Linked DNA regions of Homo sapiens: region 1 is linked to region 2. Evidence: promoter capture Hi-C in 16 types of primary human blood cells and fetal thymus (Javierre and others, 2016). All regions are on one chromosome and are shown on one strand. Each heading gives the region's core, a stretch centred on a gene start or on the middle of the fragment in contact. The rest is flanking DNA. Distances are from core to core; before and after follow the strand shown.

What was found. Contacts are between HindIII fragments. The CHiCAGO score rates a contact against its expected background, and 5 or more counts as called.
Region 1: a contact is called between a fragment that was not itself captured here and the fragment with the promoter of RBFOX2 in region 2, in 3 of 17 cell types (M0 macrophages, M1 macrophages and activated CD4 T cells). The highest score is 6.3, in M0 macrophages.

What each region holds. Positions count from the first base shown.
Region 1 is chr22:35,624,623-35,628,885 of GRCh38, forward strand. It overlaps LOC284912 (a long non-coding RNA gene), which reads right to left. Exons shown (of 4, transcript XR_001755514.1): 4 at 2,954-3,037. Among named protein-coding and RNA genes, the nearest start is that of MB, 9.4 kb to the left of the region's middle. The HindIII fragment of the contact is 8,948 bases long and covers 1-4,263 here.
Region 2 is chr22:36,026,630-36,031,003 of GRCh38, forward strand. It overlaps RBFOX2 (RNA binding fox-1 homolog 2), which reads right to left and starts at 2,195. Exons shown (of 14, transcript NM_001349999.2): 1 at 1,611-2,195. The coding sequence starts at 1,796. RefSeq lists a silencer at 2,361-2,430. The HindIII fragment of the contact is 7,441 bases long and covers 1-4,374 here.

The sequences.
Region 1 (4,263 bases), core at 1,005-3,504, 400 kb before region 2:
GATACCTCAGTGGGATCTGGAACGCAGCAGACATTTCAGCAAAGGCTTTGGAAGGGTGAGAAGGCAGTGCCTAGGCCTGGGAGGTGAAGGCCTTTGAGGGATCAATAGGAGTTTGTTCAGAGGTGATGGCTGGCCTGGATGTGAACGTATGAGGGAGCGTTCTGCAGAGTGTTCTAAGCAGAGGTACCAAACAGTGCTGCAAAAGCCTGCCAGAGACGTGTGGGGCAAGTGGGGCTGTGGGAGGTGACACCTACTGGGAAGAACTTTATGTGCCAGGCTCAGGTGATGCCTGAGCAGCGTTTTGAAGGATCAATAGGAGCTTGTTAGGAGCAAAGTGAGGAAGGGATATTCCAAGCACAAGGACCAAGACAAGGACTTGGGGGCTCAGAACGGATAGTCACGTTCCACAGCACTCATGCTCACCTGGTGTGTGCCAGGCTCCGTGCTGGGCTCTGGGGGGACTAAGGTGACACCGGCTGGCCTCCGAGCATTGAGAGGTGGTAGGAGGGAGGGATGTGTGACCTAATGTTGTCAGTACTTTCTGATAAGGGCAATAATCGAGGTCATTCAGCATAGGGCTAAAGGCTTTGGAATGAGACTCCTGGACTCGGCCCTACCATGCACTACTTTTGTGATCCATGAAAAGTATCATAACTTTCCAAGGTCTATGCTTTTGTTATCTATAAAGTGGAGATTTTGAAAAGAATAACCTATCTTAAATATCATTGTAAGGATTAAAAGAGGGAGCACCCAGCATGGTGCCTGATACATAGTAAGTGCTCAATAATTGCACACTGTGATATAAGGTAGAGAGAAATCATGGAGTAGGGAAACATTAATTCCACCAAGGAATTAACATGTAACTGAGAAGGTGATGTCCGAGCAAGGTTTTGAAGGATCAATGGGAGTTTGTTAGGAGCAAAGTGAGGAAAAGACATTCCAAGTACAAGGATCAAAACATTCAAGGACATAGAAGTTGGTGTGTTAGGACTAGGTTTGGTTGTTGGTAACAGAAAACTCAAAATAACATGGCTTCAGCAAGAGAGTATTAATTTCTCTTTCATATAGAAGTCTAGAGGCAGGGGATTCAGAGCTGACATGGCACACCACAGTCTCGGGGACCCAGCTTCAATCTACCTTAGTGCTCTGTCATGTTACACATATGGCCTTCACCTCCTCATCCAAGATGGCTGCTTGAGCTCCAGCCATCGTGCCCTCATTCCAACCAGCAGGAAGGAGAAAGGGGTGAAGAAGGTTGTGCCCCTATCTTAAAGAACACTTTCCAGAAGTTGTAATTAATACTTTATCTTGCTGCGCATCCAATGGCCGTACCTCACTGCAGAGGAGGCTGGGATATGTAGTCTTTATTTCTACATGGCCACATCACCAGATAAAAATTGGAGTTTCTACTACTTAGAAAGAAGTGGGGAAGGTATATTAGATGAAAATGAGCGATTTCTATCATAGGAGACATAAAATAGCATGCTATGCAGGACGCATAAATATTTTGGTGTTTCCGTGGTGGAAAAAGTGAAGGGGAGAGTGATGATTACAGAAATAAACAGAGGCCAGGCATGGACAGCCTTGGGAGCCACAGACGTGGGGGCGTGTCCCCAGGGAGAGCCACAGAAGGGTTTCCGAGCAAGGGAGAGCCATGGTCTGATTTGCTGTCCTAGAAACATCACACTAATTGCAGATGTGATTAACATAATGGAGGGGACACGTCTGGAGCCAGGAGGCATTTCTCCCTAACATTTTATTATAAAAATTTTCATACATGCAGCAAAGTGGGAAGAATCTCACACTGAAAACCACCTAAACTCTACCACTGGCATTTTACTAAATGAATTTAATCATGCTTCTCTCTCCCTCTACGCACCCATCCATTCTTCTTGTTTTGTGGCATTTTAAATTGCAGACATCTATCTGATTCCCTGCAGAAACTCCACAATACATGACATGAACAAGAGTTCAAAATTTCTTTGCATTTTCTGTTTTGCTGTAAGATGTAAAATTTACATTTAATTGCACATGTCTTAAATATACATTTGCTGAGATTTGACAACTACACTCACTTGTGTAGCTCAAACTGTATTAAGTTAGAGAACATTGTCATCACCCAAAGTTCCTGCACGCCCCTCCCCAGTCAATCCTGGCCCCCTCACCTGCCAGAGACAACCACTGTCCTGATTTTTTTTTTTTGAGGCGGAGTCTCAATCTGTCACCCAGGCTGGAGTACAGTGGTGTGATCTTGGCTCACTGCAACCTCTGCCTCCCGGGTTCAAGCAATTCTCCTACCTCAGCCTCCGGAGTAGCTGGGACTACAGACACATACCGCCACACCCAGGCTAATTTTTTATTTTTATTTTTAGTAGAGACGGGGTTTCGCCATGTTGGCCAGACTGGTCTCAAACTCCTGACCTCAGGTGATCCGCCTGCCTCGGCCTCCCAAAGTGCTGGGATTACAGGCATGAGCTACTGTACCTGACCTTACTTCTTTTAAAACCACAGATTGGTTTGGGGAAGGCAGACATTTGAAAGCCTGTTGGGGGGCCATGTACTGAGTGGGGTGGGGTTCGGAGCTGAAGGAGAGGCAGGGCAGAGGGAGACAGGATTTCCAGGGCTTCCCTGCAGGTTGAACTTGGAGGCTGGAGAGAGTCATTTAACCAGAGTGCCCGTCATCTGCTGCCAGGAGTTGAGTTTCTCGCTGAGTGACCGGGCAGATGGTGGCGCCATTTACTAAGGTGGGGTACCCAGGACGAGGACGGGCCGGGGGTGGGTGGAGACCAGTTTCCTTTGGGACACGTAGCATCGGGTGTTCAAGGGGCATGTGCCTGGCAGTTGTAGGGATACACAGCCATCCCCAGGGCAGCTCCTTTCTTCTGACCCCTGTGGAGGTGTGAGCTGTCCTCTGGTGAGGTGGTGCCAGGGAGCGGTCGCCAGGTTTGTCCACCTCCTTCTTGGCCAGCCGGCACCAGCGTGTATCGGGCTCCCTTCACCAGGAAGGGGAGGTGCTCTCCTCGGTCTACCCTGAAGGCTGCACAAGGGGCGTAGAGAGGGCATGGGTGTGGTTACTTCTGGGTGGCAGGACATGGGAAAGGAGACCTTACTCCTTAGGGGAAGCTGGGGAGCTCAGGCGCCCGTCTGGGCAGTCTCCAGGCCAGGTCCTCTCCTTCCTTGTTCCCTCCCCAGCATTCTGCAGCCACACACATTCTCTCTCCCCAGGCACCGCCCATCCCTGTCCCAACACCTCCCACCATTCCCTTGAAAAACAATCAAACCCCAGCTCCCCCAGGAAGGAGGCGTCAGAGTCAGCTCTGCTCCAGGGAGGGCCCCCCAGGGAGGGGGCAGGAGAAGCAGAGAGGGAAAATGAAACCACGGTCACCCTGGGCTGCAATTAGGTTTTCTCTGGTCTCTCTCAAATCAAACACAACCCACAGCAGAGCCATTTCTTCCTTAAAAGCCCATTTGTGGTTCATGCCTGTAATCCCAGCACTTTGGGAGGCCGAGGCGGGTGGATCACGAGGTCAGGAGATTGAAACCATCCTGGCTAACACAGTGAAAACCCATCTCTACTAAAAATACAAAAAAAAAAAAAAAAAAAATTAGCCGGGTGTGGTGGCGGGTGCCTGTAGTCTCAGCTACTTGGGAGGCTGAGGCAGGAGAATTGCTTGAACCTGGAAGGCGGAGGTTGCAGTGAGCCAAGATCACACCACTGCACTCCAGCCTGGGCAAGAAAGCAAGACTCTGTCTCAAAAAAAAAAAAAAAAAAAAAAAAAAGAAAGAAAAAAGAAAAAAAAAAGCCCATTTGGTCCTCAGGAGATATTGCTATTCTTCCCATTAGCGTGAGTTGGACTCATTTCTTGGGAATCAATGCCCCATCCTTATTCTGCTAACACAGGATTGGGTTCCCCTTCCAGAGTTGCATCACAAAACATCCTGAATTTATCTGGCAATTTGGAGAAGCCTCAGTTTACCCCATCGGGCTGAGGGTTACAGTCTAAGCTATAGGAAGTGCCAGCGTAGAGGAGGCAGCAGACGTCACCTGGGGAGGATGTGAGGGAGGAAGAGAAGGACCCTTGCGGGGGTCAGCAGCATTTCAGAATTGGGAAGAAGAAGAGGAGGTGGGGAAGAAAACTTCCTAGAGGGGACGACAGGGTCAGGCCTGCATTTGAAGGGTGGATGAGAAGAAAGCCTCATGGGAGATGAGGAGGACTACTAAGGGCTTCTTATGTACCAGGCTTGGGTGAGGGCAGAAATACA
Region 2 (4,374 bases), core at 945-3,444:
ATTAGCTCACCTCACCTGAAGTCTCCCACATTCCTGTCTTTTTTGCCATGGCCCTGAGCTTTTACTTCTCACAATCCCTCTGCCTGACAGAGTTCTAATGGAAAATAAAAGCAGGCAAACAAAACAAAAGAATTCAAAAATAAACACCAAGAGGGTCACTTTACCTAAATCAACAGAAGTAACAGGGTAAACTCTGCAAAGGAGACCAAGAAGCATACAACAAACATGCTAGGCTTAAGTACAGCTCTGTCCCTAACACAGGAAGTCAGGCAGAGGCTTGAAAAGCAGGGAGCAGAGCACAGGAAGTCTTTTAGCACTGCAGAGATTTCCAAGAGTGGTGTAATGGAGACAGCACAGGAATAGGAATTAGAAGACCAGGCTTCTAGTTCTAGTTTTACTATTAGCTAACTGGGTGGCCTTACCCAAGTCACCATCTTCTCTGGACTTCTGATTCCCCATCTATAAAATAAGGTGGTTAAAACAAGCTGGGACTTGAATCTCCTCCAAAAAAAACAAAGATGAAAACTATTGACTCTCCTCCACCAAAAAGTGCACATCACCTACTATGAGTAAGAATCTTCCAAGTCTTCCCAGGTTAAGAACCCCTGGAAAAGATGATGTCTAGTCCTCCTAGCATCCCTCTAACATCCTATGACTCCGAGAGAATTAGGCACAAGTCTGCACAACTGTTGGTAGGTGAGACTCATCATGTCATAGCAGTATTTTCTGGGCAAAGACCAAATCGTAAAACCTCCAAAGGTTTCAAGGTCTTCTTCAAAACTATGAAGTCAGCTGACATCAATACCTTTCCCATTCCCTACCCAAATTAACCACGTTTATCTTTCAATCCAGAATTGAGAATCCAGTCTTCTAATAGCCCTATAAAAAAATTTTTTTTATAGCCCGGGACATTAAAGAGCTATTTTGTGTCCTGGTGATGTAGAATGCAATTGGCAAAGAACAGGAGGGACATGTCTAGTGTCTCCCTTCAGACTCATTAGTATGCTCCACAAAGTAAATGAGACTGAGCACCACCGTGTCCCCATAACATTACCAAACTCCTTGTACTTCTCACACTCTGTGTGATTTAACCCACAATCTCAGCCACATCCCCTCGGGGCTCTCTCGAGGAGTTTTCTTTTCACTCCTCTCATTGAAATGCCACTTCTCTTCCCCATCCCAGCGTGTGCCCAGGGCTGCCAAAAGGTACTCCCTCTTCTCGGGAGGTTTCCCACCAGATCTCCTTTTCCTCGACTCAGTCCAGAGAAGCCAGGATTTCCCGGCTTCCACTCCACCCCAAGGCACTAAGGAAGGATTTGAAAAAATGGAATCCATCTCAACCTTGTTCGATTTCCCCCCAAAACCTATCCACTCGTCGTGCCTCCTGGCCCCTCAGGAATCAGGACCCTCTCGGGCACACCAGGTTCAGTCCTGCAACCTTCGTTCCTAGCCCGAGCTCGCCCCACCTTCCAACCAGGCCCCGAATGGCCCCCCATCCCACCTCCAACCCAGGACTCCCGGAGGCCCTCCCTCTCTCCAAGCCGGGGAGCCCGGTGTCGACCCTCACGCCCACCCCCGCAATAACTGGGCGCCCCGTCCCGCGCGGTCACCTGCATCCCGCCGCCACCGTCGGCCGCCGCCTCCTCAGTGCGCGGCCGCTTGCTCAGGCCGGGATCGGCTCCGTCTCCTCCCGCTCCGGGCACCGGCAGCTCCAGCTCCGACTCCCGCTTCATGCCCCGGGCGGCGGCGCCGGGCCCGAGCTGAGGCGGCTGATGCGGCTGGGCGCCCTCCGCCATCCGCCCGCGCCCCCCTCGCCTCCGGGAGCCGGGCGACCCGCGACAGGCCACCTCCCCCTGGGCCTCGGCCCCGACTGTCGCGACAGGCGGGCGCGCGCCTGCCCCCGCCCCCGCGTGCGTGCGTGCGTGCGCGCGAGCGGACTCCGCGCCCCTCCGCGCCTCGCGGCCGCCGCTCCTTGCCTGACCGCTTGCTCCCCGCCCGCCCGCCCGCCGGGTTGTCGGCGCGGGGCCACTGGCGGGTCGTGATGAGCACTCGCTCGCGCCCCCGCACGCACACGCGAAACCCGGCCCGGCCCGCCGCGCCGCCCCGCCTCTCGCACTCCCGGAGCTCGCCCACCGGCCGCGCTGGCTCACACTCTCCCTCACAGCACGCCGGCCGAGGGAGGAAGGGGGCGGTCCGGGCTCCCGAGGCGTGGGGAGGGCTGTTTATTTTGGGGGGAGGAGGGGCGCGAGGCAGGAACGAGCTGACTGGCCGGGATCCTCCGACCCGCCACTGTGGCAGCACCGGGAAGGCGGGGAGAGAGAAAGAGGGAGGGAGGGAGGGACCGGGATGTAGAACTCCAGCCCGCGCGGGAGGCTACGGCGAGGGGGGCGGTGGCGGCCCGCGGGGGGGGCGGGGCCAGGCCCCCTCGGCAATCTCCGTAGTCTCCTCGCTGGCTGCCCGAGGGAGGCCGGGAAGCGATCGGGGAAGCTCGGGAATCTCCGGCACGGGCCTGGGATTGTCCTGGAGGCACAGCGCGGCTGGAGTGCGGGGCAGCGCGGGGGGGGCGGGGTCTGTCTCCTTTCTGGGCGGGGCCGTATCCTGGAGCAGGCGGGGCTTGAGAGACCCGAAGGCCAGGGAGTGGCTCCTGCTTGCGGTACTAGTTGTACAGAGTTAAGTCCTGAGTTTACTCGCCTGAGCACCTTGGTTCCCGGAGAGGGAATGGGCACTCTGTGAGAGGCAGGCTATTTGCCTGCTTCCCCTCCCGCAGAAGAAAAAATGTCTCAAATTGGAAGGTCGAGGAATGAAGCCACCCCTCTATGGTTCACCCCAGTTCTGAGAGCTTTTACTCTAATATAACTCACATTCCTAATGAAGTTAGTAATAATACCCGATGTTTGTAAGAGCTTTAGAGTTTGCACAATGCATCCACAGACCCGTTTCAAACTGGTGATATAAGTAGATACCATGATCTCCATTTCATTGATGATGAAACTGAACCTTAGTTAAATCCTGCAGCAAAAAAGTGGCAGATCCGGAATTCAGAACACGAGAACATATTCTCTTTCTTCGTACCTTGCTGCCTGAGGAGCACTTTATGACTTACCAACTTCGTGGAGATAGAGATATCTGTGCAATAGATTCTCTCCCCTACCAGACTGTGAGGACAAGGACTGCAGTGACTTCCTCTGAGTTCCATATCGTGCCCTGTACGTTATAGAAATAAAAGGATATTGCGTGAATAACCTGGATTCTAATCTTGGCTTTGCTAACTAGCTTAAACAAGTTACTTCATCTCTTTGGACCTCAGCTCCATCATTTGTAAAATGAGATGGTTTGGATCAGTGGCTTTCAACCAAGGAGAAATTTTGCCATTCCACCACCTCCACTCCCACATTTGTCAGTGACTGAAGGCATTTTTTTTTTTTTTTTTTTTTTTTTTTTTGAGACAGAGTCTCGCTCTGTCGCCCAGGCTTAAGTGCAGTGGCGCGATCTCGGCTGACTGCAACCTCTGCCTCCTGGGTTCAAGCGATTCTCCTGCCTCAGCCTCCCCAGTAGCTGGGACTACAGGTGTGCGCCACCAACTAATTTTTGTATTTTTAGTAGAGATGGGGTTTCACCATGTTGGCCAGGCTGGTCTCGAACTCCTGACTTCAGGTGATCCGCCTGCCTCGGCCTCCCAAAGTGCTGAGATTACAGGAGTTAGCTGCCGCGCCTGGCCGACTGAAGGCATTTTTGATTGTTACAGTGGGGAGGTGCTGCTGGCATCTAGTGTGTAGAAGCCAGGAATGTTGCTTGACATCCTATCATGCACAGGACGGTCCCCCCAGGAGAGTTATCCAACCCCAAATGTCAATAGTGCGGAGGTTGAGAAACGCTGGGTTAGATGATTTCCAAGGTCATTTCCAACCAGTGTGTGATTTGGCCTTTGAACCTGGGTTTAACCTGGCTGGGGCTGGAACAGTACAACAGTAAAGATCCCTGCTTCAGAGTCAGACCAACCCAGATGAGAACGCAGGCTTCCCACCTCCTGCCCACGTAATCTGGGACCAGTGGTGACTAAGAACTTCCATATAAAAGGTGTTTGGGGATTGCAGACTGGTTGGAAGGGAAGTCGGGAGGACTTGCCTTGAAGGTGAGTTGTTGTATTGAGCATATTGTTTGTATTACTTAGGCTGTGTTATAAATCAGTAAAAATAGCAGAGTTTTAGCTCTGCCACCTGCAAGTCATGATGCCTTGTGACAGCTACTTACCCCCTCTGTGTCTCAGTTTCTTCATCTGCAAATTAGGATAACAATAATACCTTCCTGAAAAGATTATTGTAAGAATTTAATGTTATCACGTTTAGAACTTTGAACGGAATGATTTAGGATAAG